Regions from separate parts of the Homo sapiens genome. Here all the other regions are linked to region 1. The links are contacts of gene promoters, found by promoter capture Hi-C in blood cells and fetal thymus (Javierre and others, 2016). All regions are on one chromosome and are shown on one strand. Each heading gives the region's core, a stretch centred on a gene start or on the middle of the fragment in contact. The rest is flanking DNA. Distances are from core to core; before and after follow the strand shown.

Evidence for each region. The method cuts DNA at HindIII sites, captures the fragments that hold promoters and counts their contacts. A CHiCAGO score of 5 or more calls a contact.
Region 2: a contact is called between a fragment that was not itself captured here and the fragment with the promoter of METTL1 in region 1, in 1 of 17 cell types (monocytes). The highest score is 7.8, in monocytes.
Region 3: the fragment with the promoter of PA2G4 here is called in contact with the fragment with the promoter of METTL1 in region 1 in 1 of 17 cell types (monocytes); the score reaches 5.5 in monocytes.
Region 4: a contact is called between a fragment that was not itself captured here and the fragment with the promoter of METTL1 in region 1, in 1 of 17 cell types (monocytes). The highest score is 8.3, in monocytes.
Region 5: a fragment that was not itself captured here is called in contact with the fragment with the promoter of METTL1 in region 1 in 1 of 17 cell types (monocytes); the score reaches 7.8 in monocytes.
Region 6: a fragment that was not itself captured here is called in contact with the fragment with the promoter of METTL1 in region 1 in 1 of 17 cell types (monocytes); the score reaches 6.6 in monocytes.
Region 7: a contact is called between a fragment that was not itself captured here and the fragment with the promoter of METTL1 in region 1, in 1 of 17 cell types (monocytes). The highest score is 5.1, in monocytes.

What each region holds. Positions count from the first base shown.
Region 1 is chr12:57,769,864-57,773,364 of GRCh38, forward strand. METTL1 (methyltransferase 1, tRNA methylguanosine) reads right to left here and starts at 2,242. Exons shown (of 6, transcript NM_005371.6): 1 at 2,111-2,242; 2 at 1,231-1,394; 3 at 1-93. The coding sequence starts at 2,220. It overlaps EEF1AKMT3 (EEF1A lysine methyltransferase 3), which reads left to right and starts at 2,751. Exons shown (of 3, transcript NM_015433.3): 1 at 2,751-3,038; 2 at 3,154-3,265. The coding sequence starts at 2,862. RefSeq lists enhancers at 1,101-2,300, 1,986-2,275, 2,406-2,915. The HindIII fragment of the contact is 5,954 bases long and covers 1-3,501 here.
Region 2 is chr12:56,216,915-56,220,648 of GRCh38, forward strand. The region is part of intron 1 of RNF41 (ring finger protein 41); the gene reads right to left. Among named protein-coding and RNA genes, the nearest start is that of RNF41, 3.1 kb to the right of the region's middle. The HindIII fragment of the contact is 4,486 bases long and covers 1-3,734 here.
Region 3 is chr12:56,103,295-56,106,642 of GRCh38, forward strand. PA2G4 (proliferation-associated 2G4) reads left to right here and starts at 1,265. Exons shown (of 13, transcript NM_006191.3): 1 at 1,265-1,531; 2 at 3,294-3,348. The coding sequence starts at 1,444. ERBB3 (erb-b2 receptor tyrosine kinase 3) reads left to right here. Exons shown (of 28, transcript NM_001982.4): 28 at 1-211. LOC105369782 (a long non-coding RNA gene) reads right to left here and starts at 1,125. Exons shown (of 2, transcript XR_944995.4): 1 at 994-1,125; 2 at 520-624. RefSeq lists enhancers at 960-1,309, 1,320-1,539. The HindIII fragment of the contact is 2,269 bases long and covers 60-2,328 here.
Region 4 is chr12:55,920,704-55,924,375 of GRCh38, forward strand. All of the region lies in intron 1 of PYM1 (PYM1 exon junction complex associated factor), which reads right to left. It overlaps LOC124902941 (a long non-coding RNA gene), which reads right to left and starts at 3,068. Exons shown (of 2, transcript XR_007063325.1): 1 at 2,738-3,068. The HindIII fragment of the contact is 7,726 bases long and covers 1-3,672 here.
Region 5 is chr12:55,813,592-55,817,276 of GRCh38, forward strand. The region is part of intron 1 of SARNP (SAP domain containing ribonucleoprotein); the gene reads right to left. Among named protein-coding and RNA genes, the nearest start is that of SARNP, 2.3 kb to the right of the region's middle. The HindIII fragment of the contact is 3,247 bases long and covers 1-2,985 here.
Region 6 is chr12:55,973,782-55,977,170 of GRCh38, forward strand. RAB5B (RAB5B, member RAS oncogene family) reads left to right here and starts at 297. Exons shown (of 6, transcript NM_002868.4): 1 at 297-358. RefSeq lists an enhancer at 41-190. The HindIII fragment of the contact is 469 bases long and covers 1,102-1,570 here.
Region 7 is chr12:56,448,923-56,452,566 of GRCh38, forward strand. TIMELESS (timeless circadian regulator) reads right to left here and starts at 504. Exons shown (of 29, transcript NM_003920.5): 1 at 388-504. It overlaps MIP (major intrinsic protein of lens fiber), which reads right to left. Exons shown (of 4, transcript NM_012064.4): 4 at 580-2,543. The coding sequence ends at 2,358. RefSeq lists enhancers at 1-47, 158-247. The HindIII fragment of the contact is 1,480 bases long and covers 846-2,325 here.

The sequences.
Region 1 (3,501 bases), core at 992-3,491:
GGGCCCGAATCCGGTCTTGTACATAGTCTGAGACCTTCACCCGGATCTCCAGACCCAGAATAAGTGTGTCTGGGAACAGCGGTGACAGTTCCACTGCACACAGAAATAGCAATGGAATCATCAACCATATACTTGTAGGAAGTGCAAAGGGGTCAACACAGGAAAGGAAGCCTCAACCTGCAACTACCAAAGTCCAGAACGGCAAGAGAGGACAGAGATACATATATGGATAGTTTTATGCTCAAGAGGCGGGGGGAGAAATGAAAATTGTCACCAGGACCAGAATGGGAGGGCTGAGGATACATGTATATTTGCCATTGCTTTAGAGTTTTCCACAGTGTTTTCACACATTGTGTTATTTCATCCTTATAACACTCTGTGGTAAATTGTGAAGATAAGGAAACTGAGGGTCAGATATGCCGAAGATCATAGAGTTAAGAAGGGGCAGAACTGGAACTTATTTATTTGAGATGGAGTCTTGCTCTGTCACCCAGGCTGGAGTGCAGTGGCACAATCTTGGCTCACTGCAATCTCTGCCTCCCAGGTTCAAGTAATTCTCCTGCCTCAGCCTCCTGAGTAGCTGGTCTTGAACTCCTGGCCTCAAGTGGTCCACCTGCCTCAGCCTCCCAAAGTGTTGGGATTACAGGTGTGAGCCACTGTGCCCAGGCAGAACTGGACCTTAAACCAAGGTTTTCTGCCTCTATGTACCATGCTCTTCTTCTCTATCAGGCTGTTATCTGTTTGGGAAGATCTAAAAATAGGGAGTGGCTTGGCATGCATGGGTGGGACAATACAGACAATACAAGAGGAACCCAAAAAACAGGAGAGTGGGGCAGAAGGAATGAGATCTGGCGAGGGAGGGGCAAAGGGGAGGGGAGATGGTAGAATCTCTGAGAAAAGACAGTTCAGGATCACTGGCCACAACGGCTAATCTCTGATGCTTGTGCTGACCAGCTCACTGACCCGGAACCTGGCAGATGAAATGGCTCATGTAGGGATTGACGCCAGAAAGGACAACCCAGGTTTTAAGAAGCATTTGAGGCAGCCCCCTCCACTCTCCAGGGCAAAGGTCACAGACCCAGAGTAGAGGGTAGGTGGAGCCTCTCCATGCTGATGTCACCAGTGTCTGGACGAAAGGGGAAAGGCCAATTATGACCCCCCACAAAAGTTGCTGAGGCAGCAGAAGCTACTAGGCCTCTTCTCACCCCAAAAAGAGGGCCTGAGTGTTACCTAACAGGCCACCATAGCCACAGCCTATGTCTGCAAACTCCACTTGGGCCTGAGCTCTCTTTTCTTTCTTATCCTTTGGGTCATCGTGGCTCTGATTTTGAGTGAGTGGAGCGAAGAACTCTGGGTATAGCTCAGACCAGTCCATCTCCTCTGGCTTCACAGGGCTATTGGAAAGAAGACATAAGAAGCATGAGAAGGTTGGTCACACCATTGCAGAAGTGGTACTGTGAGAGTGTGTGGGTGGGTGAGGGTGGGAGGTAAAAGGGAGGAGGGTTTCTCAAAAATTCTGTAACACTGGGCCCTGTGGCCTCTAAGAGGGACAATGGAAACCACCCTTAACTCCCAGTGTGAATCATAGGACCATCATGAGGCCCATAAACGCTGACCTGCCCAACTCCACTTCTGGCGGTTGATGTGACCCTGGCCGGGTAACTGCCCTTTCTGGGGCACAAGTTCCCCTTCTCCCGAGACTGGCTGCCTAATGCACTGGGATCCTACTTTGTGTTTGTGCTCTGCGGGGAGGGAAGGTAAGGTAAGGTGCGGGCAGGATTGTGTATATGTTTGCCTTTTTATTAAATCCAACAAACAAAAGCAAAAGATGGAAACGACATTCTGCCTCTATCACTTCAGTCTCAGTAACAATTTATTTCTCTTCCCAAACTTAGCACCGCTACCCAGACTTAGGCCCGAACGCCACGCCCACTCTCAACCCGCCAACTCCTCTCTCGGTCGAATCTCCCGGTCCCACCCCCAAAAACTGACGTCACCCATCTGATCCTCCCGGGTCTACCCCAAATCCTCCCAGCAGTTGCAGCACAACTGCTCTCCCGGCTGCTTTGAGAATCCCGCCCTCCTCTCTCTCCCTCTGCCCACTCCTCACTAGCGCAGCGTGTGGTCCGCCATGGGGTTGGAGTGAGCACGTTGCCGGTAGTAGCGCTTCTGGGGCGGTGGGGCCTCTGCTCCGGCCACGTTCCGAGTCTCGGCTGCCATGATCCCAGTCCGGGGTTTCTCTACCAAATCCACGTGGAGGCGCAGGCCAGAGGCGCAAGTTAATGACGCAGCCATGCGCGTTGGTGGCAGTTCCCGCCCCTTAAAGACCCAAGAGCAAATTCAGCTGGGCTGGGCTGGGCTGGGCTGGGCTAGGTGGGGAGGGCTGTAAGGAGCGAGTGCTGGAGGGAACCTCCGCACCGTTAGCCTCCAACTGGGAGGGCGAGGCCAGGCCCAGGGACCCAACGTTTTCTCTTAGCTTGCTTCTGCCTGGTCTGGGTTACCATCCTGGTTGCAGGCACCTGTGCACCCCACAGGTGAGAGGGGTCTAGAGACCTCGCCTTCTACAGTGGCATCAGTCCTCGCTCCTGTCCCCTTACTCCTGGTCTCGGACCAGTCCGCCCGGTCTGACTCTTGTGGTCCCGTGTGGGTTTCGTCGAGTGTGCGCTCGGGGCCGGGGCGGGAGGGGCAGCTCCTCATTCCACCTCCAGGAAATCGAACTGGAGGAAGGAGGGCAAACTCAGGGAGGCGGGGCTCGTTCCACAGGGACACCACGACGGCTCGCGGCCCCCAGCCTCTACCCCGCTCCGGATCCGGGATCTGAGCGCCGGCCGCGGTGCCCAGGCACTCCCTTGGCGGGCCGGATGGCGGACCCCGGCCCAGATCCCGAATCTGAGTCGGAATCGGTGTTCCCGCGGGAGGTCGGGCTCTTTGCAGACTCTTACTCGGAGAAGAGCCAGTTCTGTTTCTGTGGGCATGTGCTGACCATCACGCAGAACTTTGGGTCCCGCCTCGGGGTGGCGGCGCGCGTGTGGGACGCGGTGAGGAATGGGCTGCGCCGGGTGAGGGTCCGTGGGAGGTCCAGATCCCGGACTCCGCCTCTCCCATATGGAGCCATCCTCACGACTGTCTTTTTCTCTGTCTTTTCTCCCGTAGGCCCTGAGCCTGTGCAATTATTTCGAGAGTCAAAATGTGGATTTCCGAGGCAAGAAGGTGATCGAACTGGGTGCGGGGACAGGCATCGTGGGGATCTTGGCAGCGCTGCAGGGTGCGTGAGCTGGCTTTTTACGGGAGAGAGTGGGGACCCAGGGGCGCGGAGAAATGGTCACTTCGTGGATCTTTGGGGGAGAGGGGAGAACTTTGGGCCCAGTCTAACCCCTTCTTTTTAACAAATTTTTTTTTAAAATTTGTTTTTGTTTTTATTTTGGCGTCTGCTTCTGCGTGCCAGACAGCGCGAATTGCCTGTCAAAGCACCTAGGGTGGGTGATTGGGGAGGGCAGGAAA
Region 2 (3,734 bases), core at 395-2,894, 1.6 Mb before region 1:
TGGATCACGAGGTCAGGAGATCAAGACCGTCCTGGCTAACACGGTGAAACCCCGTCTCTACTAAAAATACAAAAAATTAGCTGGGCGAGGTGGCAGGCGCCTGTAGTCCCAGCTACTCGGGAGGCTGAGGCAGGAGAATGGCGTGAACCTAGGAGCTGCAGCTTGCAGTGAGCCGAGACCGCGCCACCGCACTCCAGCCTGGGCGACACAGCAAGACTCCGTCTTAAAAAAAAAAAAAAAAAAGACAAGAGGAAAAGTAGAGGAGTTGTTGGAGATTTAAGATTCTTTTATTCAGTGCACATAACTACCAGTAATAATGATTCCAAATCTGTGACTACAAAATGCATAGATCCAGGTTGCGATGGCTCACGCCTGTGATCCCAGCACTTTGGGAGGCCGAGGCGGGTGGATCACCTGAGGTCAGGAGTCGGAGATGAGCCTGGCCAACATGGCGAAACCCCATCTCTACTAAAAATATAAAAATTAGCCGGGTATGGTGGCAGATGCCTGTAATCCCAGCTACTCAGGAGGCTGAGGCAGGGAGAATTGCTTGAACCCAGGAGGCGGAGGTTGCAGTGAGCCAAGATCGCGCCACTGCACTCCAGCCTAGGCGACAGAGCAAGACTCTGACTCAAAAAAAAAGCAAAATGCATAGATCCATAATACATTATGTGTACAGGATGATGCTTTAATGCAGAGGTCCCCAAATCCCCAGATGGACCAGTACCAGACTGTGGCCTATCAGGAACCGGGTCGTACAGCAGGAGGTGAGCAGGAAACAAGCGAGCATTAAGGCCTGTGCTCCATGTCCTGTCAGATCAGCAGCGGCATTTGATTCTCATTGGAGCATGAACCCTATTGTGAACTGCCCATGCGAGGGATCTAGGTTGCCCACTCCCTATGAGAATCTAATGCCTGATGATCTGAGGTGGTAGAGTTCCATCACAAAACCATCCCCTCGCCCACCATCTGTGGAAAAACTATCTTCCACAAAAAGGCTGGGGATGCTGCTTTAATGTTTCCAAAGTGCTTTCACATAAATTATTATTATTATTTCGAGATAGAGTCTCGCTCTGTCACCTAGGCTAGAGTGCAATGGCGCGATCTTGGCTCACTGAAGCCTTGGCCTCCCGAGTTCAAGTGATTCTCCTACCTCAGCCTCCAGAGTAGCTAGGATTACAGGCACCCACCACCATGCCCGGCTAATTTTTGTATTTTTAGTAGAGACGGGGTTTCACCATGTTGGCCAGGCTGGTCTCGAACTCCTGACCTCAGGTGATCCACCCGCCTCAGCCTCCCAAAATGCTGGGATTACAAGTGTGAGCCACCGCGCCTGGCCCACATAAATTATTATTATTTTTTTGAGATAGGGTCTTGCTCTATTGCCCAGGCTGGAGTACAGTGGCATGATCATAGCTCACTACAGCCTCGCCTTCCCAGCAGGCTCCAGCAATCCTCCCACCTCAGTCTCCCAAATAGCTGGGACCACAGGCACACACCACCATGCCTGGCTAATTTTTGTATTTTTGGTAGAGATGGGGTTTTGCCATGTTGCCCAGGCTGGTCTTGAACTCCTGGGCAGGCTCCAGCAATCCTCCCACCTCAGCCTCCCGAAGTGCTGGGATTACAGGCACCAGCCACTGCGCCCACCCCCAAATCTACACATTTAAACAAGTCAAGTAACCCTGCTGTAGTTTTTCTGTTGCTTCAACTGTCAAGTAGGGAAAATGATACCTGCCTTATATATTAATATAAGGTATATATAATATATACATATTTATTATATATATATATGTTATTTTTTTTTTGAGACAAAGTGTTGCTCTGTCGCCAGGCTGGAGTACAGTGGCACGATCTTGGCTCACTGCAACCTCTGCCTCCCGGGTTCAAGCGATTCTCCTGCCTCATCCTCCCAAGTAGCTGGGACTACAGGCATGTGCCACCATGCTGAGCTAATTTTTGTATTTTTAGTAGAGACGGGGTTTCACCATGTTGGCCAGGATGGTCTCAATCTCCTGACCTTGTGATCCGCCCGCCTCGGCCTCCCAAAGTGCTGGGATTATAGGCGTGAGCCACCATGCTTGGCCTATTTTTCTTTTTTTTTTTGAGATGGAGTCTTCCTCTGTCGCTCAGGATGGAGTGCAGTGATGCAATCTCCTCAGCTCACTCCAACCTCCACTTCCCAGGTTCAAACAATTCTCCTGCCTCAGCCTCCTGAGTAGCTGGGATCACAGGCATGTGTCACCATGCCAGGCTAATTTTTATTTTATTTATTTATTTATTTATTTTTTTTTTGAGACGGAGTCTGGCTCTGTCACCCAGGCTGGAGTGCAGTGATGCGATCTCGGCTCACTACAAGTTCCGCCTCCCAGGTTCACACCATTCTCCTGCCCCAGCCTCCCAAGTAGCTGGGACTACAGGCGCCCGCCAGGACGCCCAGCTAATTTTTTTTTTTTATTTTTAGTAGAGACAGGGTTTCACCACGTTAGCCAGGATGATCTTGATCTCCTGACCTCGTGATCTGCCTGCCTCGGCCTCCCAAAGTGCTGGGATTACAGGCGTGAGCCACCGCGCCCAGCCAATTTTTATATTTTAGTAGAGACAGGGTTTCAACATGTTGGCCAGGCTGGTCTCAAACTGGCCTCATATGATCCACCACCTTTGGCCTCCCAAAGTGCTGGGATTACAGGCGTGAGCCACTGCGCCCGGCGTAATATAAGGTGTATATATGTGTGTGTGTGTATATATGTGTATATACACGCGCGCACCCCTTATACATACTGTCTGCAAATCAAATGAAATAATAAATACGAAAGGAGGCTGGACGCAGTGGCTCACACCCGTAATCCCAGCACTTTGGGAGGCCGAAGTGAGTGGATCACCTGAGTCCAAGAGTTTGAGACCAGCCTGGGCAACATAGTGAAACCTTGTCTCTACAAAAAATACAAAAATTAGCCGGGCATGATGGCGTGAGTGCCTGTAGTCCCGGCTACTGAGGAGGCTGAAGGGGGAAGGTCAACTGAGCCGAGGAGGCAGAGGTTGCAGTGAGCAGAGATCGCAGCACCGCACTCCGGCCTGGGTGACAGAGTGAGACCCTGTCTCAAAAATAAATAAATAAATAAATAAATAAATAAATAAATAAATATGAAAGGATACTGAATACTGTTATCCTCAAGTAAGATTATTTGTAGCAACAGAATACAAAATAAGGCTGGGTGCAGTGGCTCATGCCTGTAATCCTAGCACTTTGGGAAGCCGAGATGGACCAATCACCTGAGGTCAGGGTTTTGTTTTGTTTTTTTTGGCGGGGGGTGTGGGGAGACAGAGTCTCACTCTGTTGCCCAGGTTGGAGTTCAGTGGTGGAATCTCAGCTCACTGCAACCTCTGCCTCCTGGGTTCAAGCAATTCTCCTGCCTCAGCTTCCCAAGTAGCTGGGACTACAGGTGCATGCAGCCATGCCCCGGCTAATTTTTTATATTTTTAGTAGAGACGGGGTTTCACTGTGTTGCCCAGGCTGGTCTCGAACTTTTGAGCTCAGGCAATCCGCCCGCCTCGTCCTCCCAAAGTGCTAGGATTACAGGCGTGAGCCACCGCGCCCGGCTACAGTCAGAGGTTTGAGACCAGCCTGGCCAACATGGTGAAACCCCATCTCAACTAAAAATACAAAAAATTAGCCAGGCATGGTGGCAGGTACCTGTAATCCCAGCTATTCAAGAGGCTGAGGCAGGAGAATC
Region 3 (3,348 bases), core at 15-2,514, 1.7 Mb before region 1:
CAAATTCACAAGGATCCCCAAGATCCACTTTTAGAAGCCATTCTCATCCAGCAGTGAGAAGCTTCCAGGTAGGACAGAAAAAAGATCCAGCTTCAGCTGCACACCTCTGTCCCCTTGGATGGGGAACTAAGGGAAAACGTCTGTTGTATCACTGAAGTTTTTTGTTTTGTTTTTATACGTGTCTGAATAAAAATGCCAAAGTTTTTTTTCAGCTTCCTGTCTGTCAAATGAAGACATTTCGTATGTTAGATAAGAGATCTGCTCCTCAGCAGTGGATACTCACCTTTCTGTGTTCTGACAGTGCTACTCTGTCCCATGCAGCTTTCTCTAGTCCTACTATTACTTCTATTTCTTTAGAACAACCATAGCGCATAGTCCTTTTCATTAAGGGTTTTAGTAGGAATCTACAAGGCAACCAATTGGGAATAACAAAAAGAACCTACGTGCTTTAGGACTTATAAAAAGCCCTATAAGCCCTCCTTCAGAGGCCAAACACTGAAACCTCCAGATGCTTCTGAATTCATTATCTTAGAAAAGTCATCAAATCTTTTTATTTTTTCACGGTAAGAACTCTCAACAAACATGTCTTTCTGAACACTTCCCTTAGGTGCTCCATCCAGGTGCCTGTTATTGGAACAATAAAGTCATGTTACTTCATTAGGAGTCCGGCCTCTAGATTGCGAGGCCTTTAAATGGATGATCCCTCCGGTGTCTGGCTGCCCAGTTAGCCCCCGTTACCAGCACCCTTGGTCTTCTTCCACCTGTCTGCCCCTCCCTGTTCTCCCAGCTTCGGAGGACGACTGGACCGGCTGGGCGGGTTTCGCCAGCCGACCCAGGGATCCGAAGAAGGGCGCACCCAGCCTCCCCGACCTAGGTGTAGACACTGCCCACCCGCTGCGGCTCCACTCTACTCCACCCCTGCCCGCTCGACTTTAAACCTATTTCCCCGCCGTAGCTCCGCCCCTCTCCCCTCAGCCCGCCCCTCTCTGTTACTGGCTCTCGCTCAGCGTTCTCGGTGGAAGTGGTTTTTCCGGGAGAGACCACGCTTCCCCTCAAGCTCCCCAACGGCTCCGCCTTCCCGCCGGAGCCTGACCCTTCCCAGAGTGCCCGGCGATTCCGGCGTGCGAGGCCCTTGGAGGGCAAGGCCCCAGGGCCTGGCTTAGGAGCGCGAGAGGCAGGCTGGGAATTGTAGTTCGAAGGCCCTCGAGAGCGGCTAGAGTCTGGCGGCCGAGAGGACTAGTTGTCCCAGCGTGCCCTGCGCCTCAGCCCGCGCGCTCGCAGCTTCTCGCTCTCGCCTGCCTGCCCGCTCCCTTGCTTGCTCGCGCTTTCGCTCGCCCTCTCCTCGAGGATCGAGGGGACTCTGACCACAGCCTGTGGCTGGGAAGGGAGACAGAGGCGGCGGCGGCTCAGGGGAAACGAGGCTGCAGTGGTGGTAGTAGGAAGATGTCGGGCGAGGACGAGCAACAGGAGCAAACTATCGCTGAGGACCTGGTCGTGACCAAGTATAAGATGGGGGGCGACATCGCCAACAGTGAGTGCGGCCTCGGGGGTCGGGGAATCAAGGCTGATAGGGAAAGGTAACAGGCTGGCCCGGAAGGGGCTGGAGCGGAGGGGTCATGCGGACTGAGCTACTGAGGGGCCCGCACCGGTCCGCTGGGCACGGCGTGGTGGGAAGACCCGGTGTCGCGCCTGGGACCTGAGCGGGCAGGCCCAGGCTGAAGTCTATGGAGGTGCGGGTCGGCGACCAGGATGAGCGCAGAGAGGGGACCCTGGCAGGCTCCGACCCGAGGCCGTTTGTTAGGAGGCAAGACGTGTTTTCTCTTGTTCCTATCCTTCATTCCCGATTATTGCTTCCTCTGATTCTGGCAGCGGCGAGGCCACCTCGAAAAGGAAGCGCCCAGCTATTGGCGACAGAAGTGCCCCTCTGTTTTTGTAGCGTCTCCGGGGCGTCAGGAGCCAAGCCGGCACGTGTTGCTGGGTCCCATTGCGGATGGCTGGCCCCCTTCTTACTCCGCTAGTGTCCCTGACACCAGCTTCCCCACCACCAGCTTCCCCACCACGTGCTTTGCTGGAGCCTTTCCTTCTTTACTTCAGCTCTTACCCTGGTGGGGGCCCCCTTCTACCTTGGGCCAGCTAAGGAGACCGTTGGAGAGCACTCCTGGAGCTTCTAATGCAAGTCTTGGAGATATATATGGCTTTTCTTGAAGTTACTCATTACTACCACCTTTCCAATCTGTGCAGATAGTCTTAGTTAGCATTCACATTTGTTGTTCTCAGTGACTTGACAACTCAAATGTTTTGGGGTCTCCGTCTTATCCCAACTAGGCAAGCTTGTGAACATTACTGGAAAAGGGAGGACTGATTTTAGGATTTTCACAAGTCATCCTTACTCCAGGTGTGCTCTGACGATCTCAGCAGTTGCCTGTCACTCTAGGCAGATGCCACTTTCTCTTTTCTCTCTTTCCAGTTAGCCTTTCCATTTTATTCCAGTTAGGGAGATACAAACTGCTTGTCATTGTGCTTTTAAATGGTTTTAACAGCAAAGATGGTGGGGAACAGGTATTTAGGATGCCTCCCGTCCTGTGGGTGAAAATCTGAGTTTTACCAGCTTTCAAAGAATCACCAAAACTGAGATACCAAAAGTCAAACCTGTGCTTTATATCACAGTGGACATTTAGTATCGTACCCTGGTTTTTGGTGCCTTTTAGTATTTGAGATACTAGTGGTTTGAATCAGAAAATCTCTTACAGTTTATAACTTTGGCCTCATATTTCTTTTAGATAAGCCATGATCCCCCGAAATGAAACCCAGGGACCTTAGATTAAGTTTCCTTGGCTTATGCACTTGTTTATGAGGAAATAAGTCTATATAGATTGAGATTCCTAACACCTAATTAGAGTGTCTGAGAAAGGAATGCGGTAACATTTAACAGTGCATCGGCTTCGAGTCAGCAATTCTGTCTACCTTCTTGTCCCTGATGCCTATAAATTTCATCTAGTCTTTGCGTGTATGTGGGGATACCATGGCAAGAACCCTCTGAAGTTCATAACTCTGTCCTGTCACACCAAAGGTAGCATCTTTGGAAAGTCTGAGGCCTTGCCTAGGGAGATGGATTGTATATACCCAGTTGTCACATAATGTAAGGAAGAGAAGGGAATGTTGACCTTTCAGCCTCAGGGCAATGGCACCAGGGAGTATTATGGAAACTCTTAAATTCAACTTCCAGGTATTCCTTGGGTGGTAACTAGACAATGAATACATACAAGGCTGACATGATGGGATTCTGTCCTCAGGGGTACTTCGGTCCTTGGTGGAAGCATCTAGCTCAGGTGTGTCGGTACTGAGCCT
Region 4 (3,672 bases), core at 829-3,328, 1.8 Mb before region 1:
AAACATTCTAGTGTTCTTATAATAAAAATTCTGAAAACAATCTAAAAGTCCAATAACAGAAGAAAGTAAGATAGGGTGCATGCCCAAACTATAAAACACTCTGCCAGTATTTTAAAAGATGTTTACAGAGTTTTTAATAGCAAGGAAAAACATTTACCTCATAAGGCTAAATGAAAAGGCAAGATATAAAAATGTATATACCATCTGGTTCTGCTATGTTTAAAACAGTTTAGAAAGATATATGCCATATATAACAGCAGACTCTGGGTTGATGAATTAATATTGAACAAAAATTACATAACTAAATTTGCACTTAAGAAGCAGTAATCTGGTAGCAGTGTATCTGTAGAAATGAAACAAGAGAGGGACTGGAAATACGATGACCAGTTTAGGAGGTCACAGTAATATTTGCAGAACAACAGAAACTAGAATTTTAGCAGGCACTTGGAATGGCCCAAGTACTATGCCTGGTACTTGGCCATATATAGTAATTTCTTCTAACCCATACAATGACCCTTACATAATAGTAATAATTATAGAACAATGTGTTGGACACTTTTTATGTGCCAAACATGTAAATTACTTTATTTAAATTTTAATACGCATAATAATCCTGTGTTGCAGGAGTTATTCCAATTTCATTGATGAGAAAACTAAGACTTAGATTCCCAAGGCTATATAGCTAACAAGTACTGTAGATGGGATAAGGGTAACAGCAGTAGGAATAAAAGAATGATATTTTGATAACTGATATACATGAGGAGGGCAAGAGAGAAGTAAAAGATGATAATAAAAATAATCATAAAAAAATAAAACTCCCATAAATAAAAAAAAATACTCCCATAGAAATAAAAACACCTAGTGATCAGATCTTAGTTTTTAACATTACTCTTTAGTAAAAAGAACAAGGGCTTCTTGGAGAAATGGCAGACCGCAGGACTGGAGCAGAGAACAAAATCATACCTGCAATGATGGCAAATGTCAAAGGGAGATGGGCCAAGTAAAAAACTAAAAGAGTTCCCAATGTTCAAAACTGGAACATTTGAGCAATAAAGCAAATAAAATAGTATTGGATTATAACCTAACATATAAAATACACATCTATAAGTCCATATTGATATACATAAATTAATAAAGGAAAAGAAAAAAATCTCCTGGGCAGAAAAATGCCAAATAGTGTGTTTTTTTAATTGTTTTTTGAGACAGCCTCTCACTGAGGATGGAGTACAGTGGCACAATCACGGCTCAATGCAGCCTCAGCCTCCCTGGCTCAATCTTCCCCTCTGAGGCTCCCTGAGTAGCTGGGACCACAGGTGTGTGCCACCTTACCCAGCTCGTTTTTTTTTTAAATCTTTTTGTAGATAAGAGGTCTTGCTATGTTGCTTAGGATGGCCTCAAGCAATCCTCCAGCCTCAGCCTCCCAAAGTGCTGGGATTACAGGCATATGCCACCATGCCCAGCCCTTAATCTCTTTTTTTAAGGAGAGCACAACTCTCTACTCCTTATGCGTGGGCTGGCAATAGTGACTTCCCTACAGTATGGAAAGGAAGGGGGTAAAGCCTAACTTTACAGTGAAGCCTTACAAACAATATCTCTGCCAGATGATCACGGTCAATACTAACAGGCTGGGCATAGTGACTCATGCCTAGTAATCCCAGAATTTTGGTAGGCCAAAGGGGAACAATACCTTGAGCTCAGGAGTTCAAGACCAGCCCAGGCAACATAGTGAGACCATCTTTACCAAAAAAAAAAAAAAAAAAAAAATTAGCTGGTCATGATAGCACACGCCTGTGGTCCTAGATACTCAGGAGGCTGAGGTGGGAGGATCAATTGAGACTGGGAGGTCAAGATTTCAGTGAGCCATGATGGCATCACCGCACTCCAGTCTGGGCAACAGAGGGAAGACCCTGTCTCAAAAAAACAAAAATATTAACAGTAAAAAATCATTGTGATACTATGTACCCTGATACAATGTGATGAAAATGTCACTTTACCTCTGTGGTCTTCCTCCCCAAAACACATAACCCAAATCTAATCATGAGAAATACATCAGACAAATTCCAATAGAAGGATATCCTACAAAATACCTGACCAGTACTCCTCAAAACTCAAGGTCATGGAAAACAAGGAAAGCCTGAGAAAATGTCACAGCCAAGAGGAGCTTAAAGAGACATGAGAACTAAATGTTATGTAGTACCCTGGATAAGATCCTGGAACAACAAAAAAAAATTAGGTAAAAAGGCTGGGCGCAGTGGCTCACACCTGTAATCCCAGCACTTTGGGAGGCCGAGGTGGGCAGATCACCCGAGGTCAGGAGTTTGAGACCAACCTGACCAACATGGAGAAACCCATCTCTACTAAAAATACAAAATTAGCCGGGCATGGTGGCACATGCCTGTAATCCCAGCTACCCAGGAGGCTGAGGCAGGAGAATCACTTGAACCCGGGAGGCAGAGGTTGCGGTGAGCTGAGATCTCACCATTGCACTCCAGCCTGGGCAACAAGAGCAGAACTCCGTCTCAAAAAAATAGTAATAAATAAATAAATATAAAAATAAATTAAGTAAAAACTAAGGAAATCAGCCAGGCATGGTGGTTCACACCTGTAATTCTAGCACTTTGGGAGGCCAGGGCGTGAGGATTGCTTGAGCCCAGGAATTTGAGATCAGACTGGGCAACAGAGCAAGACCGCATTTCTACAAAAAATACAAAAATTAGCCAGGCGTGGTGGTGTGTACCTGTAGTCCCAGCTACTCAGTAGGTTGAGATGTGAGGATCACTTGAGCCCAGAAGTTAAGACTACAGTAAATGGTGATTGCACCACTGCACTCCAGCCTGGGTGACAGAGCAAGACCCTGTCTGAAAAAAAAAAAAAACAAAACTAATGAAATGATGTATGGATTCTAGTTAATAGTAATATATCAATATTGCTTCATTAATTGCAAGCAAAGTACTATATTAACGTAAGATGACAGTAATGGGGAAACTGAGTGTAGGGTATATGGGAAATCTCTGTAGCATCTTCTCAATTTTTCTATAAATCTAAAAGTGTTCTAAAAAATCAAGTATATTTAGAATATTAAAAAAAGAAATGGCTAGGCGTGGTGACTCATGCCTGTAATCCCAGCACTTTGGGAGGCCAAGGCTGGCAGATCACGAGGTCAGGAGTTCGAGGCCAACCTGACCAATATGATGAAACCCTGTCTCTACTAACAATACAAAAATTAGCCAAGCGTGGTGACATGTGCCTGTAATCCCAGCTACTCAGGAGGCTGAGGCAGAAGAATCACTTGAACCAGGGAGGCGGAGGTTGCAGTGAGCCGAGATCGCGCTACTGCACTCCAGCCTGGGCGACAGAGTGAGACTCTGTCTCAAAGAAAAAAAAAAAAAGAAACGATACAAAAGTTTACCTTGGGTTGGCTAGAATAATGGTGCCTTTAACAGAAATAGTGATGGAAAAACTGATACTGGTTTTGGTCAGGTTGGATTTGAGGTATAACAGTATATCCAAGAGTGAAGATATTCACGAAACAATTAGAAAAAGGCATAGGCAACTCGAGAGAGGGTAGTGCTAGAAATAATGACTGCAAAGAGTTAAGAACAAATAGGCAGCAAGGAAACAGAAATATCAGGAGATTTCTTCATATTCGAGAAATCTGGGGCCAGGTGCATG
Region 5 (3,685 bases), core at 112-2,611, 2.0 Mb before region 1:
TGGAGTGCAATGGTGCCATATCGGCTCACCGCAACCTCCACCTACGCGGTTCAAGTGATTCTCCTGCCTCAGCCCCCCGAGTAGCTGGGATTACAGGCATGTGCCATCACGCCCAGCTAATTTTGTATTTTTAATAGTGACGGGGTTTCTCCATGTTGGTCAGGCTGGTCTCGAACTCTCGACCTCAGGTGATCCGCCTGCCTCGGCCTCCCAAAGTACTGGGATTACAAGCGTGAGCCACTGCACCCAGCCTGCTTGGATTTAATATACAACATTTTAGCTGTGCAACCTAAGGCAAGTTACTCAGTTACTCTCTCTGAGCTATGGTTTTTCTTATTTTCAAATGAGGATAATACAGGTATTTACCTTACAGGGTTATTATGAGAATTAAATCAGTTAGTGTATGTAAATGGCTTCAAACAGTGCTTTGCCACATAACAAATGCTAAGTGTTGGCAATTGATGAAGCATTCTGAAGAAATTAAATAAAATAAGGCCACAGTAGTTGAAGAGTTAGTAACTATGCTGGAGAGACGGGCAGGGATATAATTTAAAGGTTTTAAGCAGGGGAATGACTCCTATAATAAATATCTAAGTGGTGAAATCGCTCCCCCTACAAATCCCATCCGCCAAGAGAATACAAGCTGATCACATCAAGCTCCTCCTTTCAAACTTCCAAAGGCTCCCAGCCCTACTTCTTACATGACAAAGGCCAGAAGTCCTTACATAACTTAGAAAGCCCTTTTCAATATCACTCTGATTTACCTTTATAGTTTACCTATTTTCCTTTCCAAACTATCTTCAACTACCAATATATTTCCTCACTTCACTTTTCAATACAAATGTCTCACTATTCTCAACACTCTGACACTACTATCACTTTCTCCTCTCCTCTGCAATAGTTCCTTTTCTAATGTTTGACTGGATATCTGATACTGTTACAGTTCAAGCCATTTTCATCCACAGTTCAATCTCTCTTTCCAAATGTGTTAGTATGGGCCAGGAGTGGTGGCTCATGCCTATAATCCCAGCACTTTGGGAGGCCAAGGCAAGAGGATCACCTGAGGTCAGTCAAGTCCAGCCGGACCAATAACATGGTGAAACCCCATCTCTACTAAAAATACAAAAATTAGCCAGGCATGGTGGCACGTGCCTGTAATCCCAGCTACTCGGGAAGCTGAGGCACGGGAATTGCTTGAACCTGGAAGGCGGAGGTTGCAGCGAGCCGAGATCTTGCCACTGCACTCCAACCTGGGCGACAGAGCGAGACTCCATCTCAATTTAAAAAAAAAAAAAAAAGAATGACTGCATTTCTACAAAATCCTCAGAAATTTGCTGTTGATATGACATTACATATCAACTCAGATACATACTATGTTTCCTTCCTGCTTCAAAAGGTATTCCCTTCCCCTGAGGTTCCATACCAAAGCCCAAAATTCTCTTTATGACAATGGAGAGATTTTTTTATTTTCTTTTTTTTGAGACAAGGTCTCCCTTTGTCACCCAGGCTGAAGTGCAGTGGAGCAATTATCACACAGCTGACCACAGCCTTGGCCTCCCAGGCTCAAGCAATCCTCCCACTTCAGCCTCCTGAGGAGCTGGGACTACAGGTGTGTGCCACCATGCCCAGCTAATTTTTTAATTTTTTTTGTAGAGACAGGGTCTCACTATGTTACCTAAGCTGGTCTCAAACTCCTGGCCTCCGCCTCCCAAAGAGTTGGGATTACAGGTGTGGGTCACTGCACCCAGCCAAGATTTTTTTTTAAGGCAATAAAACCCCAAGTCAACCCAGAAGTCAGGATCATTGCATCAAGATCACCAGTGGAACCAAACATTAATTGTCCTAAAAATCAGAATCAAAGGCATGAGTTCTTTTTTTCTTTTTGAGACGGAGTCTCACTGTCCCCCAGGCTGGAGTGCAGTACACCATCTCGGCTCACTGCAACCTCCAACCCGGGCTCAAGCGATTCTTGTGCCTCAGCCTCCTCACAGCCTCCTCAATAGCTGGGACTACAGGCACTTGCCACCACACCTGGCTAATTTTTGCATTTTTGGTAGAGGCGGGGTTTCGCCATGTTGCCCAGGCTGGTCTCGAACTCCTGGCCTCAAGCAATCCGCCCGCCTAGGCCTCCCAAAGTGCTAGGATTACAGACGTGAGCCACCACGCCCAGCTAAAGGCATGAGTTCTTAACCAGAGGTCCATGGACTCCTCGGGGCTACAAGGTAGTTTTATGAAGCCCCTCAAACTGCATGCAAAATATGTGTACATGCCTTTTTCTGGGGAGAGGGTCCATACCTTTCATCAGAGTTTCAAAGATATCTGTGACCTCCAAAAGGTTAAGAAGTGCTCTAGAGAAAAAGCAAAGACAAGCAAATGTGATTAAAGAGCAAGTCCTTTTTAGGCTGTCAGGAGTGCCTAATGTTCTCTTAGACTGTAACACTGAAATCAGGTCAGAGGACTTTACGTAAAAGTTACTTATCCAATCAAATACAAATTTTATATAGACCTGACAAATACAGATTTGATGGAAGGAGGAACTCCATAAACCAACACAATCTATAAATGCAAGTAAGTCATCGGGCAGCTGGTGACTTACTCCAGGGATTTCAAAAATAGGACAAATAGGAAGAAAATATTAGCTCTTCTATATATAGTTCCTTTTTATCTCATTCAAAAATTCCTTTTCTGTGTTATATTTTATAACAGTCCAGAAGTATACAATTTCTATAAGTACAGTATATATAAACAAAGTGGAGATGATTGCTCAATTTTTTTTAACTCATCACAATAAAGATCAAGAGACCGCTGATATAGTCTATGCATTTCAGTATCATCAAGTTAACAATAACTCCAGAATAACACAAAAACCCACTAACAGAGTTTAGAATCCAAGAGTAAGAAAAACATCAGTTTCACAGAAAGACTAATTGGGGTCAACTAATAAGTGACTAAAGAAGGGTCCTCTCCCTACCCTTACTACCCTTAAGCTTTCTTAACAGCAACAAAAACAAAAAAAAACTTTTCGAGCTTTAAAGGATCACTTTTCAGTTTCAGCTATATCAGCCTGGTTTGTCCAAAACATCTAATGGGAAAACTACTTGTGAAACCACAAACAGACAATTACTCAAGATATCTTAATTTACCCTAAAAGAAAATACTTTTTAAAATGTTCTTCTTTTTAATATATTTTTTTAACTTTTTTATATATCTAAGTGTGAAAAAACTACCAAGAGTCTCATAAGACAATTTAAAATAGCTTCTGTGATTCAGTGTCAGCCAATGGTAACACCAGGAGATGCAGGGCCCACCCGAGATATGAAATGGAACAGAGATAATCTTAACCTTGGAATTGTTTTTCCCAAATATTGCAGGTGTGAGTTCTCTCTGGTGGTTGGAGATGGTGTGTGAGGAAGGCTGGCGGGCCGAGAGCCGCGTGACAGAACTCGAAAACTTTTAAATCTGAGGTGTCTGTACTTCTACTATTCTCAAGACCTCCTCAACCCCAGGCTTCTAAGGCGAGACCGATCTTCTGAGAGGCCTCTCCCTGTTTCAAAATTCGGCTTGGGGCGTAATCCCACCTAGAAAAGGGGAGTGGAAGTATTTTCTGAGTGTCTGGTACCTATTTAGACAGAAATACACAAAAATGCCACCATTTGCTAACAGGGAAATCTCAGCTTCGGACGAC
Region 6 (3,389 bases), core at 86-2,585, 1.8 Mb before region 1:
GGATACATACGCCTGTCGGCAGTGTACCGCCCCCTGTCTTCAGGAGCTTGCTCTTTAATGGCTCCTTACCTCGTCCATCTTCGAGGTTTCTCCCTCGCTATTGGCTTGTGGCCCCGCCTGTCGCGTCCCTTGCTCGTACTTGTTGGTGACAGCGCCCAAAGAGACTCGCCTTTCTCCAGAGGATTGGTGGATGAGTGCACATATAGCCCACCCTCGAAGGTAGGCGGGTAATCGAGCTATTGGCTGGAGCCCCGCCCCAGGGCGAGGAGGAGAAGGAGGGGCAGGAGGGTTTGGTTGAGCTGCAGCTGTTTGTCTGTTCGACACAGGCTTGGGGCCGACGGGGGAGACGGAGCCCCAGGTACCGAGCTGATGGAGCCCAAAGGGCAGGGGCGGAAGCGCCCGGGAGATGAGAGCAGCCTGGCCTGAGAGCGGAGGCGGGTCTGGTCCTAAGCGAGGGGTTAGAGTGGCCCACCGGAGAGGGGAGAAGGGGGCCGGGCCCCGGCAGGCCTAATGGGGGTCGCTGAGGAGGGGACTGGGCGGCCTGGGACCCCGAAGTTGGTGAGTCGGGAAGGCGGCTGGGCTGTGGCGGCGGCCAGGCCGAGGGCCGGGGGCTGGAGGCCTGGAGCTTGAGTGAGGGCAGGGGCAGGCCTCATTAAGCAGCGCTGAAGAGGGAGGAGCTGGGGAAAGGAACAGGGCAGCGGGTGAGGTAAGCCCATTTGCCGGGAGGTGAGGAGGGTCAGACCTGTCGCCCGAGCCCCGGGGGTGACTGGGGCTGGGTCCCTGCAGAGAGGTTCATTGGAAGGGCCTGAGAAGGGTTCTTAGTTGGGTAAGAAGCGTTCTTTTCAGGGAAAGTGCCTATTGTAAAAAGAACTGAGGGTGCTATGGTGTTGAGCTGAGAGAGATTTGGGTTCAGTGAGGGAGAACTGGGGAAAATGAAGAAGGCTGTATTAATCTAGAAGACTAAGGTAGTTGAAGTAATGGAAGCAGGGCCTGGTATCAGTTATGGGAACTTCTGGGAATGCTGAAGGGTGGGCTGGGGGCTCTGGGTCTTGGGAGTACACACTCTTTTGTTCCCTTTAGTGTTTAGATGTGGTAATTTGAAGCTTTTTAAAACTCCCAGGGTAGGGATGAAGATCAAAGTAATTTTTTTTTTTCCATGACTGTTGGCTGCTCCAAACTCAGCCCCTACACTTTCTGTTGGCCTCATAGCTGGTCTATACTGCAGTCTGTTTCTTAACTTACTGTTTCATGTCCTATGAAAGAGCTAAGAAGTTGGATTGGGGGCATGTTTTGTCCACTTCTTTCCCACTTAATAATGTGGTCTATAGCAAATACCATGTCTCCTAGAACTGAGAATCTATTTCATATCTATTTCATTATCTACATGGGAAAGGGGCTTAGAGATCCTCAGCCATCAGGAGATCTTCTGATCATAGTTGGTGAAACTTTTGTGGGACTTAGACTTGACTTGGGTATTTCCCAGGCAGGTAATGGAGTTAACAGGTCCGAAACTATGCGGTGATATCACTGAGGAAGAGATTTGGGGAAGAGTGAGAAATTCCATTTCAAAAGCTTGGCATCACCCCTTGTTCTTTGTCTACTTCAAAAGCCCAGATTTCTGTGCTGTTAGAAAGTTGGGTCAAACTATGAAGTATCTGGGGAAGATGGTGAGTAGAGAAAAAGATACAGAGGTGCAGTAGCCCACGCCTGTAATCCCAGCACTTTGGGAGGCTGAGACAGGAGGATCACTTGAGCCCGGGAGTTCGAGGGTGCAGTGAGCCATGATCTTCCCACTGCACTCCAGCCTGGGCAACAGAATGAGACCCTGTCTCCAAAAAAAAAAAAGACAAAGATTGCCAAAGCAGAGGAGTGGAGTACCCTCCTCCCCACATATTTTTAATGGTCTGCTAGCCTTCTTAGTCCCTCATAGATTGGAGCCTATTGGATTTTCCCTTACTGTACTTCCTCCTTTTCTGCGTCTCTACCAATATATTTTATCACTACATTTCTTTTTTTTTTTTTTTTTTTTTTGAGACGGAGTCTCACTGCAACCTCCACCTCCCAGGTTCAAGAGATTCTCCTGCCTCAGCCTCCCAAGTAGCTGGGACTACAGGCGTGCGCCACCACGCCCAGCTAATTTTTGTATTTTTAGTAGAGACAGGGTTTTACCATGTTGGCCAGGATGGTCTCAATCTCTTGACCTCATGATCCGCCCACCTCGGCCTCCCAAAGTGCTGGGATTACAGGCGTGAGCCACCACACCCGGCCATCACTACATTTCTTAATTACAAAAGTTAATATGTACATATTTTAAAATATGGAAGGTGTACAGCAGTTTAAGAAGTATAAATCCTCCCACACATACCTTATTCATATTTCATTTAGGAAGGTCAAGGATCAGAGACAGCAAATCAGACTAATCTTGCTTTGCTTTGGGGGATGTGTCACAAAAGGCAATTGTGTTTTCATGTTCTCATCAAACTCTAGTCTTATTCTTTCTACAGTTTTCCCTTCTGGGATGATACTCTGTTATTTATTGTGTTCCTTTCACAGTTCATTTTGTCTTCTACCAAGTCCGACAAGCAGAGGGCTGTACTGTGTGTTATTCACCTTGAGTACACACAAACACACACACCCCAAGTTGTGTGCTGGGTGTCCTAGGAAGTGCCCAAAGAGATGGAACAAAACTTTATGGGGAGAAAGGATCATTTTGGTTGGGATAATTGTTGGCATCTCTGCTAAAGAAAGGAATTTCAGACCCTTATCTCAAATTCATGGTCTCTGGATGTTCATGGTCTCTGCATGTTCACATTACTTGACTATCCCTTTCTTATCCATGATGATGATGGTTCTCCTAAGAGGCCCCTGTATTTGTCTTTCTTTTCTTTTCTTCTATTTTTAGAGACAGGGTCTTGCTTTGTCACTTAGGCTGGAGTACAGTGTGTGTCTTTCTGTAGGGATCTGAGAAGCTCCAAGCTTATCTGGATTTGAAATCGGTTTTCCTCTAAATCTCAGAGTCAGAGTACAGCTGGGGCATTTCATACTACCACCTTATTAATTGAATTTGTCCTTACTAGCTTTAAAAGCCCTCTGTTGTACCCAGCCTTTGTACAGCGCCCATTGGAAACCTCGGTTTTTTCCCCCAAGGAACTTTTCTCACCTGCAAGCCAGTCCTAGAGACAGTTGTGTAGGAGTATGTGTGTGTGTTTTTAGACGGAGTTTCACTTTTGTCACCCAGGCTGGAGTGCAGTGGCATGATCTCGGCTCACTGCAACGTCTGCCTCCTAGGTTCACGCGATTCTCCTGCCTCAGCCTCCAGAGTAGCTGGGATTACAGGCGTGCACCACCACGACCAGCTAATTTTTGTATTATTAGTAGAGACGGGATTT
Region 7 (3,644 bases), core at 336-2,835, 1.3 Mb before region 1:
GACCACTGCTGACCGCCAGGCCACACACCGGTTTTTTTCAGGAGGTCTCAACTAGATGCTAAGCTCCGAAGTGGAACTCCCTCAGGCACTTTCTGTTCTAATTCAGGAATTCCAAGCCCCTTTCCATCACAACCCCATCCCGCGGGAGACCCAAGCTGTGCGGAGCAGCGTAGGGCTAAGCCCGCGTCCGGTGAGACCCGGGAACGCGGCGCGGGAGACTAAGGAGCAGAGTACAGAATTGCGCGTGCGCGCCTGCAGCACGAGCCCCGCCCCCTGGCTCTAAACCGGGTGGCGGGAAAAGGGACTCAGCGTTTCCCGAGAATGCCCCCATAGCTTCGAAAGGATCCCCGTGTCCGCTTAGCGCCCTCTCGCCACACACTCACTCACCCGCTCCCTGCGGGTCCTCAGAAGCCCGGAGGAGCCACCGGCCCTCTGGCGCGGGGCCGCAGCCTTTCCGCCACCAGGCTCAGCTGGACCGGTCCCCGCCTGCGCGAAGAGCGAGGCGGGGCGAGCCGGGCTGGTCCACGTGACTCCGAGCGAACTGGGGCGGAGATTGGTGAAGAAGGAAGGAAAAGGGAAGCGAGTGCAGGGACTGTTTTATGTGAGGTCGATCTAAAAATCACAGCGCTATGAATTTTCTGCTGAATTATAGTAGAATCAAAGTCCGATTAGAGGTGAATTTACAAACATTCTTCCCCTTCTTCTAGTCAAGCGGACTATTCCAAGTCTTAAATAGTTAGTTAGAAAAGTTAGGTTTTATTTGGGAGGAAGTAAAGAGCTGAAGTACAGGGAGGAATGGTCTTCTGGGATAGGGGATGTCCGTTGTATTATAGGTATAAATTTAAAGCTTTCAAAGTATGCAAGAGGCTCATAAAAGGAAGAAAGCAACCGTAAATATTCATTGAACAGTTGAGGGTCTCTTCTGGCCTCTGCTGAGATGATCTTGCCAAAAGGAAAAGAAAATAGGGCTGTGCTCTGGCCCCCTGTAATCCCAGCTACTGGGGAGGCTGAAGCAGGAAGATCGCTTGAGCCCAGGATTTCTAGACTGTAGTGTGCGATGATCGTGCCTGTGAATATCCATTGCACTCCAACCTGGTCAACATAGTAAGACCCCCTCTCAAAAAAAAAAAGAAGATAGGGCTCAAACAAATAATAATCTCCTGAATTATTAAGCATTTGAATAGAAGGAATCAATTTCTGGGGTATGAGGGAGTTAGAAGAGATTTGCTTCAAGATGAAAGGACGGATGACAGAGAAATGAAAATACACAGACACAAAACAAGAAAAAAAACACGGAACTAGTGATAAAAGCAGAAAGATGCCATTTGAGGAGTGTTTTGATTTGCTCTAAATAAATTAGAACAGAGTCAAAGCCTCTCCCCTCATGCCCCCTACTACCACCCGTTCATTTATTTGCTCCAGGAATCAGATTTCCTGTGTTGGCCTTAGGGAACAATTGTGGGGCTTAAATACCATCTGCCAGGCAGCCACAACAGTGGATGTCAGGCTGACCAGTTAAGCTGCTTAATTTTTCTAGATTCTAGGCTTGCCCAAGCTCTATTTAGGTTGGAAGCTCTTTGGCCCAGGACCTCTGAAGAGATCCATTATGTCAGAATGAACACAACCAGCCAGCGGATGTAGACAGGTTTACGTGGCTTTACAGAACAGCTAAATCCTAGTGTTCACTTTTCTCAGAGCTACTTCCCCACCCAAGTCCCTGGGGCAAGCATCCCTAAGATAAGTAGGCTATATATTCCCATTAACTTCCCCCCAATTCTTCGGTACACCTACATCCTGATCTGGGGCTAATACTCCGTTTTCACCACCCACCTCCCTTGAGTCCCTTCTCCTAACCCTTGGAAGCCTTGTCTCCTCCACTTCTCTCCATCTGCCTCGTGTGAGGAGTAACTCCCTGCTTCTCTGTTCCCTCAGAAATCAAGAGCCACACACTTGACTGGCAGCAGGGTAAAGGCCAGAAACTTAAGGTGTCGGTTACCCAGTACTCACCATACTGGGTCGAGGAAGGGAGGTATAGGATGGCACCTCTTTTTGCTTCCTTAGCTCTCATGCCCCAAAACTCAGACACAGCCACACTCACATTCATATGCACAATCAGCACACACGGCGAAGGGTGGTGGGATGGGGAGGAAGGGAAGTTTGCACCAACCAGCTCATGAATGCAACTTGAAAGATTTCACACAGCAAAAGGAAAAAAAAAAAAAAAACAACCACATACATAAGTTAAAAAATAAAGAAGTACATGACCCTCCCCACAGTCTCTTTCTTCATCTAGGGGCTGGCTAAACCCCTCCACGTAAACTCAGAAGCTTTCTACTCCCTCTATTCAGCTGGAGCTTCTACAGGGCCTGGGTGTTCAGTTCAACAGGTTCCCCTGTGACCTCTGGTTGTCCATTGGAGACATCGGGTTTGGCACCCTTGAGGACAGACAGTCTCTCAGAAATACTCTTGAGCCGGGGGAAGAGAAGAAAGTCGTACAGGAGGCTGCCCAGACCCCCTCCAATGATTGGGCCTACCCAGTACACCTGTAGAAAGAGAAAAGGAATACTCAGGCTTGGGGAGGGGACAGAGTAGCAACGCTGCTCTTTTTCCAGCCACCTTAGTGGAAAACAAGATATTGTACACTTGATATCTACAATAAACTCACCATTTATTTTCTGATTCATCAAATTACTCCTTTATCCCACACCTTAGCATGTGTATATTCTATTTGTTATCAATTTGCACTAGTTTGTATGTTGCTTTCAAAAAAATTTTATACATTGTGGTAAAACACATATAAAATTTACCATATTAAATATTTTTGGACAGGCGCAGTGGCTTATGCCTGTAATCCCAGCACTTTGGGAGGCTGAGACGGGCGGATCACAAGACGGGCGGATCACAAGGTCAGCCATTTGAGAACAGCCTGACCAACAGGGAGAAACCCCATCTCTACTAAAAATACAAAAAGTAGCTGGGCGTGGTGGCAGGCGCCTGAAATCCCAGCTACTCAGGAGGCTGAGGCAGGAGAATTGCTTGAACCCAGGAGGCGGAGGTTGCAGTGAGCTGAGATCCTGAGATCAAGCTCCACTGCACTCCAGCCTGGGTGACAGAGGGAGACTCCATCTCAAAAAAATATATATATGTTTTTAAGTGTACAGTTTAGTAGTGTTAAGTATATTCACATTGTTGTGCAACCTATGTCTAGAACTTTTTCATCTTGCAAAGCTGTAACTCTATACCCATTAAACAACTGCCTATTCCACCCCACCCCCATCAGCCCCTGGTAACTATCCTTCTACTTTGCGTCTGTGAATTTGAGTACTCTAAATACCCCATATAAATGTAATCATACAGTATTTGTCTTTTTGTGACTGGCTTATTCACTTAGCATAATGTCCTCAAGATTCATCCATGTTGTGGTATGTGTCACAATTTCCTTCCTTTTTACAGGTAATATTCCATTTATGTATATACCACATTTTGTTTATCCATTCATCCACTGAGGAACACTTGGGTTGCTTTTACCTCTTGGCTATTGTGAATAATGCTGTTATGAAAATGGGTGTACAGCTTTGAAAAATTTTTAAATTATTTCCATATGTTTGGCTTGCACAACATCAACATAACCAATATTTATTGAG